Regions from separate parts of the Homo sapiens genome. Here region 2 is linked to region 1. The links are contacts of gene promoters, found by promoter capture Hi-C in blood cells and fetal thymus (Javierre and others, 2016). All regions are on one chromosome and are shown on one strand. The core of a region is centred on a gene start or on the middle of the fragment in contact, and the rest is flanking DNA. Distances in the headings are between cores, read along the strand shown.

Region 1 (5,205 bases), core at 946-3,445:
TGAGACAGGTTCTTGCTTTGCTTTTTTTTTTTTTTTTTTTGAGACAGCGTCTTGCTGTGTCACCCAGGCTGGAGTGTAGCGGCACAATCGTGGCTCACTGCAGCCTCAACCTCCCTTGCTCAAGCAATCCTTCTGCCTCGCCCAGTTAATTTTTTAATTTTTTGTAGAGACAGGGTCCCACTATGTCGCTGACGCTGGTCTCAATTCCTGGGCTCAAGCCATCTCCCTGCCTTGGTCTCCCAAAGTGCTGGCCTTGGTCTTCCAAAGTGCTGGCATTACAGGCATGAGCCACCATGCTGGGTCTAGGGTGGGGTTTCAAGCTAAACTAGATCAGTTATAGATAATAAAGAACAGTCATTCTTCCTGTTCATCTGAGAGTCAAACTTTTTTTTAAAAAACTCTAATATAGATACTTTGTGCTTCCAAGTAATCTCATGGAGAAAAGCTTATTTCATTTATTTATTAATTCAGTAATATGACTACCCGACATATACTAGGTACCGGTGGCACAAACATCAATTATGTGTCATTCCTGTGCTCAGAGAGCTGGGTTCCTAGCAGGCTAAATACACTAGTGAGCAGGTGCTCACACCAGAAATAAGAGGGCTCCCATACAGTTACATACTGGGTGCTTTGGGAGAGGCATCTCCCCAAGGGTTTGGAAGCATCCAGGAAGGCTTGCTGGAGAAGGGAGCCTTTCAGATTGGCCAATATTTTTGTTAAGTGACAATATCAAATGATGGCAAAACTGTGGATGAAAAACTGGGAATACAAATTGGTACATTTCTGGAGAGCAGTGTTTTTACAAAATCTTTAAAATGTACATTTTTTAAAACCATAGTTCCACCTCTAGTAATTTATCCTAAGGAAATACTTTAGCTGTAGGGATGTTCATTGCAGTGTTATTTATAGCAATGAAAAATTCTCCAACAGTTGAGGGCTGATTAAAGTATATATTTTCACAAATCAGATATATAGTAATTAAAAATTGTGTTGTAGAAGCAAGCTTCTCAAACAGTGCTGCTCCAGAGACTACGTGCTCATTTGCCAAGGAATATGTGAGGCCATAGGACAAACTTAGTTCATCTTTCTCAACACGAATTTTACTGGTGATTTAGGAGTGTGACAGAGGCTACTAGTTAACTATCCCAATGTCCATTCTCTTTCCTCCTCAGTAACAAAACTCTTGATTTGTACCAGGGTGTGTTGCTGCTCACGAATAATAAGACTACATATCCCCATTCTCTGATGTGGCTAGATGTGGCTTTAGGAGTAAATGCAAACCAACGAGGTGTCAATGAACTGTTATGAAAGACTTTCAGGGAGGCCACCTTGATGGAGCTGACTCACAGGGTTGAGACAAGGGAGTGACCATTTAGCTACTTTCAGTAATTTTTAAAAAGCTTCTGTGTGATTTAAAAAGTTTTTTAAAAATTATTCTTAAAGTGGAAACAAATACAGTTTCAAATGTTTGGCTAATTCTAATTTGAGGAGTACAAGAAGAGGAGAAAAGGAGGGGGATGTGGGAGGAAGCGGATGCTTTATTTCTAAGAGAATCTTGGATAAGCAATGCTGATTTTCCTCTATGATTAAGTCCAATCTGAAAAGGCTGACAAGTCTCGTATAAATTGCTTGTGGTAGAGACTCCTTTTTTTGTGTTTTCACTGTGCTTATGGTTATTTCATTTTGTAGAATCCAAGATGCCCGCCCTCCTCCTCCTCCTCCTCCACCCTCTCCCAAATTTGCCTAAGATATAATAGGCAGGGTTTCAGGATTTAGAAACGATGCACGTAGATTTCAGACTGCGCCTCTCTCTGACATCAGAAAACCTACATTGCCTAAGGCTGGCACAGAGTTGGCCCCAAAGTCTACTTAGAATTTGCCGGCGGAACAGCAATGACCACTGGGCCACAGCGCTTAAGACGCCCGCTGGGTACCAATCCTGGGAGTCGGGGGCGGTGCGAGTCGGGCCCCCCCCATCCCAGGTCTGCGTAGCCAATAGCTCGGGACGGGAGCGGGAGGGGCGTGGCGTGTCCGGCAGGGGGCGCCGTGATTGGCACGCCAGCTCCCGCTGTCCGCGAGGCTGCCCTAAAGTCTAGCTCATGAGAACCCCAGGCAAGTGCGGACCTACAAAGTTTGTCCGCTCCGGGGCACTGTAGTGGCTTTTACCCTGGCCGGGCGGGCGGGGCTCAGCCGGGCTGGGCTGGGCTCCGCGGCTGGAGCCGGGCTCTACCCAGAGCAAGACCCTGATGGCTGCGGTGTTTCTGGTAACGCTTTATGAATACTCGCCGCTTTTCTACATCGCGGTGGTCTTTACCTGCTTCATCGTGACCACCGGCCTGGTATTGGGATGGTAAGTGTCCCAGGGGTGAGAGACGAAGGGGCGGATACCGCCAGAGTGGGGTCGCGACGAGCAGCAGGGGGCACCGGAGCCGGAGGGCCGCGGGCCGGAGGACGTCGGGGATTCGGTGTCCCCGGGTGCCTAGAACTCCGACTTTCTCTGGGAGGAAAACAAGGTGGACGCTGCACCTGCGTCACTGCCCTGCATCACCGTTTGGTCCGTGTCGCTGGGGCATCTTGGGGTGGTACCGCATTGGGGTGTTTTACTCAGCTTTGTTTCTAGGCGATAAAGCAGCCAGGAAGGGCTTGGGCTTGGGCTTGGTGTTGGGAGAAAGTGCTTCTCTAGTAGGCTTCTGTCCCGGATTCGGGCCTACTGTGTGTCCTGGATGAGTTAGTCACCTGTGCTACAGTGCACAGACTGGACAGTAAGCGAGGTTAACAGTTGTGATTCTGACCTGAATGGAGCCCTTAGCCTCAGATCTTTCAGAGTAACTTGTAACTGAACTGTTACCGTTTGAGAATTTAATGGTTTCTGTATACATTCCACACCTTTTGAAGTAATATTTAGTCGATAGAATTGTAAAATCATAATTTTAGAGCTGGAAGAGACCTTAGAAATATGTAACACCGAGGGTAGGACAGTTGCCTATTGGAGACAAGGAGAATGGTCTGTTAGATAACCGCTGAGCAATTCTTCTAGCCTAGAGGTTCAATTTCTCTCTTGAGGAGATGCTATTGTATCATGTTTAGACAAGCCTTGTAAATAACGAGTTGAAACCGTGTAACTAGCCCACAACAGTTTTTCTAGGCTGCAGCCTCCAAAATCCCTTTGAGATGATAATAGTTACAAAAAGATCAAACAGCAGTTCTAAGTGGATAACAGCCATGGTCTGAAGAGGTCAGAGGGGACTCTGTTGAAGAGGGACATGAGCTGGATTTTGGAGAATGAGCATTTTGAAAAATAAATGGAGTTAAATGTATATAGTAGGGAAGAAAAAGCATCTCAGAGAAGACAGCATGAGCATAGGGGCAGAGAACATGTTAGTGAATAAAGAAGGCTACGTAAAACGAGTTTTAAAATAGCCTTTGGTCACATATATGTGATTGCCTTAAAGAACACGGGCCCTTGTCGGTTTCTGAAAATATATGCCATCTTTAGGAAGTGACAAAAGTTTTAACCTGTCCACACTGCTCCTCACCCTACCAGCAATAGAGCATAGAATTCCTTGCCTTGTATGTGGGTGAGGATTGGAAATACAAATTCCTTATTTGTGGGGGTAAGATTGGAAAACAAAGACCAATCTTACACAATTGGTTATTCTTGACCCATCAGATTTTATTGCTAATGTTCATTACACAAAAGTTTGTAATTGGAATGAGGAAGGTGTTGCCCATGTGAGAAAAGCAGTCTTAACACAAGATTTTTAAATGACTATAATGTTAGTGTTATTCTCTTAATGAAGCATAATTTTCCTCCACTAAGGAAAATAGTAACTAGTTGATAATTGCCTTATGTGCTTTAATTTTTATTTTAAATAGGCCAACTAATTAGATATCTTAGATATCAATCTTTAGTATTGGGAAGAGGGTAGTCAGGAGCCTCATGTTTGTAGTGGTTAACAGACAGACTTTGGAGTCAGTCAGACATAGGTTCAAATCCTGGCTCTGCCAGCTTTAAGACTTGGTTTGAAAATTTAATAATTGCCAAATCACCCCATTTAGGTAAGACTTTTTACAAGAGTGGAAGCCCATGTAATTATAGAACGTTTGGAAGTCTGGGCTAAGCACTGCTGAGGCCACAAGACCATGTAAATCCAGTCACTTCCATCCTAATTTAGGCCTAACCAGTCATCTTGTGCCTAACCCAACCATTCTCTCCATCCGAGTTAGTTTTGCCCACGTAGATAAACTTTTTACTATGTTTATTTGCAAACTTAAGCCAAGGCCATGTATTTATTGACTAGAAATGATGAAAACTTGGACACCATCTAAATCGCATAAAAACATCTTTCTAATAGTACCAATAGTACCCCAGTCAGAAGGGTAAACTAGTTAATACGCATGTTTTTCACCCTTGTCATTGTTTTGTTTTGTTTTAACCTCCCATAATACCATCTCTACTGTTCATGTGTTTTCTGTCATGGTTTTTCCCTTGGTACTTCTCTGAGTTTTTCACTATTTGCTTCTTTCCACTGTTTGCCATGTCTGCCTGCACTGTGTGGGAGTGGAGAAAAAACAGGAGCATATGATTATTGGAATCCCAATAGCAATAGCAAAGAAGCATGCAACTGGAAATATAGTATTTTTCTTTCACCATGTGGTGGTTTCTGTGATCTCTGATAGCTTTCTGCAGGCACTGAGCACAAAGAAGCCCAAAAGTCCATTTACATCCTTTAACAGTTTCAAATAATCAGGGACCATGACTCCAGTAGCTATTCCCGGCCTCCTCTTGACCACAGTTTATTAAGCTGTTGACCTCAACTTCATACCACCCTCTGCTTTGTGAATCTAGGGCAGAACTCTAAACTACATTTCTTCTTTGCAAGCTGACTGCCCATTGGGCTTTGCCAACAAGGGAGGGAGACTGGAAAGCTGGAAGAGGATGAAGGGACTTGCTGCTTCCTGTTGATTCCTTTTCTTGTCTGTCACTTGCCACAATAGTGCCTCACTCTGGCATTAATAGTTGGTCCCACTTGTTCCAGTTTATGCTTTCCTACTCTGCTAGAATCAGCCTTATGCACTTCCTTAAAGATACCAGTATCCTTTCCTCAGATCTGAGTCCTGAGCTCCATAGAGTCTCTCCTCCACATTTCTAAACTATAGTAAATTCTCTTTATTCTCTTTTCTCTGTTCCCTTGTCCTAGG
Region 2 (5,205 bases), core at 1,136-3,635, 270 kb after region 1:
AAGCAACAAATGCGATAAAAAGAGTTCTGCAGATAGGGAAAGAGGTGTCCAGATGAAGCTGAGGCTTACAGCAAGGCCACCACTGAGGAGGTGAAGAGAAATTACAGTGAATGGAATCTAAACCCTCTCTCTATAAATAAGCAGATGCTAGCACTGGCCTGCAAGCCCCTTTTCTAGAAGTTAGAGTTCTCCTGGGATCTTTGCCTCCCAAATTCTTGCTGGCGGCTCTGCTCTCCACCCCAGTGGGGCTGAACTAACAAGTTCCCCTTTTGCTTTTCTCACCAGAACCTGTGGTTTGCCAACCCCGGGGGCAGCAATAGCATGCCAAGCCGCACCCACAGCTCAGTCCAGAGGACCCGCTCGCTGCCCGTGCACACTTCCCCACAGAACATGCTGATGTTCCAGCAGCCAGGTAGGGCCCGGCGCTTCATGTCCCCTTGACACAGAGGGGAGGCCAAAATAGATGCCCTAGCAAACCCAGCCAGAAAGTGCTTAGCCTCGACTGTCACCGTGCATTCTTTGGAGCTTATAGAAGCCTTTCCTTTTTTAAACTGTGCCTTGCCAGCATGAATAGCGGCGGCTTGGCTGAGAGCCAGCATGTGGAGCCCCAGAGTTGGTTGCAATCGGATGGGGATATTTTTGATACTAGTCATATTTCTAGATTGATTAAACCAGAGATAGCACAAGAGGGCTTTGGTGGTGGGGAGGTGGGAGGGCTCCATGTGTAGTGTGTGTGTGTGTGTGTGTGTGTGTGGAAAGAGAAAGTGAGAGTGAGACAGAGAAAGAGAAAACTGTTGATGCTGAGACCTTCCCCCTGGTTTGGGCTTTTCTTGCAAAGTGATGACTGTTGTACCAGCCATCTTTCCTTTACTTGGTTAAAGAGCAACTTAGCACACTTCAGATCAATTTCAGCTTTCACTATGCTTCCTAAAACAGAGTGGTTGGAATTATGCACAGCTAATGAATACTTGAACCCTTTCTCTATGCAGGCAGTGATCTTGTAGACTTTGTAGACTCCATGAGTAATAACAAGCCACACAGGCAATTACACTGCACCTATCTGGATGGACCCCCCCCCACCCCCACTGCCCCAAGGCAGGCAAACTGGAGATGTGTTGTACCTGTAGGAAAATGCCCTGGACAGTAGAAACGCTCTGTCCAGTAAGTCCTATCTGTAGGAGTTTAAAGAAGAGAAGTGTTACTGTGGCCTGGAATAGGCAAGGAAGCTTCCTGGAGTTGGAGCTGAGCTTCAGGGCACAGCAGAGGGTGGAGAGAGGGAAGGCAGAGTTACAGGCAGAAGGAACCCAGGAGCAAGACTGCAAAGGTCCAGAATACCACAGCATGGCCCGGAAGCCGTGGCTGGGCCAAAGGGTCTGGCTGAGGTAGCAGAAAGTGGACCCAGGGAGCTGTAAAGGTCGTGGCCGATGGTGGGGGACTTTGAATCCAAAGCTGAGGAGCTTGGACTCTGGCCACTCTCCCTGGGGGGATTCCTCCACATGGGGGATTCCGAGTAGAAGTCAGGCAGGAGGGTGCAGGATGATGGGGTGGGGGGGTAGGCTGGAATTGGGAGGTCAGGGAGGAGGAGGACGCTGGAGGACACACTGCTGGGAACGGCATGTCAGGGAGGGGAGCGACAGCTACCCAGTGCAGAGGCCTGCTCACATTGCTTCTTGACTTCCAAAACTCTGCTCACTTTTGTTTTAAAGCTCCTTTTCTCTATATTTATGCACCAAAATATAACAATATAATTACACATATTTCTATATGCTTAGCTATTTTTCTTCCTGGGAAGAAACATGATAAAATTTGGGGGTTCTGAAGGCTTTATCCCAGGGTCCTTTCATCCCATCCTCTGTTTTCACGCAGAATTATGTATAATCCATTCCCAATAAAAAAGAATCTGGACAAGATTTGAAGAGGTCCTGCGCACAAGGAGATCTGTCACCTTGAATGGGTCTTTCACCCTGGCCTCAGTCTCACCAGCAGAGTGACCACTGTCTTCAATTCTGTATACCTTCTCAAGGCCTTCTTGATTTTTTCCCTTCCTGCCACTCTTTTGCCAGTTCTCAGCCTTCCTCTTTGTTCATACTGAATCTTCCCTGAGCTTTCTCCATCTTAACTGGGAAGACTAGGTCCAGACAGTCCCCTTTCTAAAAGCTGGGTTGTCCCGGAGCGCTTCGGGTTTGTTGATAGAATCTTCCACCTATACCTTTGTTTCCCCTCCACTATCTCACAGCAATGCCAAGTGGCTGGCTTGTGCTCAGGGCAACTATGAACCTAATATCATTTTCACTCTTCATGCAAACCCTCTTGTTCCTGTGGTTAAAGAATCAAATAATACAGAAGTGCTGTGAGCAAAAAGTGACTGTCTCTCTCCCCTCCCCTTCCTAGCCCACAGGCACAACCCCTTTTAGCAGTCTGTAGTTACCTGCAAGTCTCTAAATAATATGCTTCGCACACTGGACTTAAAACTCTGGAACGCTTTGAGTGTTTTTTTTAAAATCTCTCAAGTATTACAAACCCACTTCCAGCAAGGTCTTAAAGATCCTCACATGGCATTTTTAATAACAGCCAAAGCACAGGAAAAAGCCCGCTCTAAATTTCCTGATTGCAAATAAACCATTGAACGCTGGACAGGAGCCACTCCTAAGTCCTGCCCAGCACGCTCAGCACCATGCTGGGTGGCTCTTCCAGGACATGCATAAAGGGCATGATAGGGCAGGGCCTGGCCAGGACCCAGGATCCCTCACTGAAGGGGAAGGAGGCTGCAGAAGGCCCCTGCTTAAGGGCACAGGGTTGAGGTTCCTCAGCCCTTGCCAATCATTGTCAAGGCCACAGGTCACTGTAGTGACTTTTCCTTCCTCCCAAGGAGGCAGCCTCCTACCCAGGGACGACACCTCTGACCTCCAAGCAGGTCCAGACGAAGGCTCATCCTAGAGTCATAGAGTCAGGGTCCTCATCCTGGATTCAGAGCCGCTTCTGCTCTTCCTGGATTCAGAGCCTCTTCTGCAGATGGGCCTTTCCACACAAAGCAGTGCAATCTGGTTCGCTATGGAGACTTCCCGGGGCTTGTGGCCAGGCGTTAAAACTAGACTACAAATATCATGTCAGGACAGCAAAAATCAGGAAGTCAGAAAGTGGCTTTCATCTGTACATGAACAGGAGTAATAGTGAACACAAAATGAAATTGAGATGTGTAACTAACCCAAAAGTAGATACTCGGAAAACTGTTATCATACAATGCAGTGTTTTCCTCCTGGCTGTTAGATGTCTTCAGAGAATCCATTGTAAACTGGGCAAATCTTGAAGACTACAATGCATTTGAAGGATGCTTTCATTCTGTAAACCTAAAATAACTCTACTGATGGGAGACTTTAAACGTCTCATACAGAGAAGACAGAGGGCTAGAACCCACCAAGTTGCGGATCAATTCATCAGTCACCTTGCTCGGGTTTACAGGACTCATCCCTCGTTCCTGGTTCTACACAATTCACGGGCACTTGGAGGCCCCTCAGGAGTGGTGTTTCATGTTATTCCCACATGGACAAGCTTTTTTTTTTTTTTTTTTTCGAGACGGAGTCTCACTCTGTCACCCAGGCTGGAGTACAGTGGCGCAATCTCAGCTCACTGCAACCTCCACCTTCACATGGACAAGTTTTAGCTGTTTCCTGGGACCAGCCAGGAGACCCTTCAGGTGGCTATTGCCAGTGATGAGTAAGAAACACTACGAGGTGTAATACGCTCACCAGAAAACAAGTGTGGCGCCTGTGCGAATGGTCACGTTCCTCATGGAGGCAGGGCGTTTTCTCAACTAGATAACTGGTTTGGAAATTGCTTGGAGAGGGATCCTTTATTTTGGAAGCAACTAATTTCTACTGACCCAGGCTTAGTTGTCCTTGGGATCCAGTCAGAGAGGATCTTGGAGTGGCCCTGGCTCAACAGTAGGAGATCATGGAGGTTCTTTACCCCCTGGAGGGCCTAACAGAAAAGGGCAGGGAACCCCATAGCAGGCTTCAAAGGAAAACCTTCAGAAGGGTAGGCTGCACAGCCTTCTGAAAATCTCATTCTTCCCTTGCCCAAAGCCACATGCAAACTACCCTTGGTTGTGAACCAGCTGGATGTGAGCTGGGTCCAGTGGCACCTCACATGGCAGCATTTCATGGTGTGACTTACCTGATCACCACAGCAAACCTCCTCTAAGTACCAGCTCACAATTGGGATTCTTCTGCCATAAGCACGCTGCATATATCTGGGAGCACAGGGCTCCAGGCTGTTATTTTTCATTTCCTTCCGGAGAACTGCCTTTAGAAAGAATAGAGAGTTATTGGTGCACTGGGTCCAGTGGGGTGTGGAAGGGGCTGCCATGCAGAGGCAGAAACCAGAACAGGGACCCAAGTACAGTACTGGATAAATATTTCCTCCATGTCTTCTAATAAATCAAGGCAGACATCCCTGTTCAGGACTGGCAGACAATGGGTAGGGAGATTGATAAATAAATCAATTCTGTCATAGCCAAGAACCCAGCTGGGCCCACAGCCTCCTGCCTCTGAGCATCAACTTGGGGCAAGATGGTACAATATCATCTTATACCATGTTGTACCCATCACTTTTTGTGAAAGCGTTGGTCCCAGAGGACCTCCACAGGCACTGACCTTCTGCAGGCTTAGGAATGTTAGGAGGCCACCAGAGAAAAGGTGCGTTCCCATGGTCAACTCAGGGATGCTATTCATTACTCCTGCCACCCTCCATGGCCATCTCTGCCATCCTCAGCTTGCCTGCTGCCCCACCCCTCTGTTTCCCTGCCTGTGCCGTTTCTTTCCCTTTTGTTACCATCCTCCCCCTTTCTTCTTAGTTCTCTTGTCTTCCTTTCTTCTTTACTCATCTCATCACAGCAGACCAGGTCCCACTGCTCTGTCCCTTTTTGTCTTCCCTGCTTTCTCTCCTCCTAGCAACCCTGCTGCTCAGTGAACCAGACTCCACACCTTTCTAGTTATCCAACAGAGTTGCCTCCGCTGTCATTGGCAAAACGGGATTCTATAGATTTTTCCTGGAATGCCCCAGCCTGTTTCTTATTCTAAAGTCCTAAAGAAATTGGCTCCTTACCCTCAGTGCCTTGGAGAAAAAGCACTGCAGAATTGCACCGTGGGTGCCACACATGTGAGACCCAGCAGGGATGGACGGTTACTGCCAAGGACAAGCCCTTTG

The links. The method cuts DNA at HindIII sites, captures the fragments that hold promoters and counts their contacts. A CHiCAGO score of 5 or more calls a contact.
Region 2: a fragment that was not itself captured here is called in contact with the fragment with the promoter of CGRRF1 in region 1 in 12 of 17 cell types (M1 macrophages, M0 macrophages, naive CD4 T cells and 9 more); the score reaches 7.4 in M1 macrophages.

What each region holds. Positions count from the first base shown.
Region 1 is chr14:54,507,711-54,512,915 of GRCh38, forward strand. CGRRF1 (cell growth regulator with ring finger domain 1) reads left to right here and starts at 2,196. Exons shown (of 6, transcript NM_006568.3): 1 at 2,196-2,353. The coding sequence starts at 2,250. RefSeq lists silencers at 1,857-2,286, 2,086-2,271 and an enhancer at 2,447-2,676. The HindIII fragment of the contact is 20,688 bases long and covers 1,402-5,205 here.
Region 2 is chr14:54,776,129-54,781,333 of GRCh38, forward strand. SAMD4A (sterile alpha motif domain containing 4A) reads left to right here. Exons shown (of 13, transcript NM_015589.6): 11 at 286-412. Among named protein-coding and RNA genes, the nearest start is that of SAMD4A-AS1, 91 kb to the left of the region's middle. The HindIII fragment of the contact is 2,323 bases long and covers 1,225-3,547 here.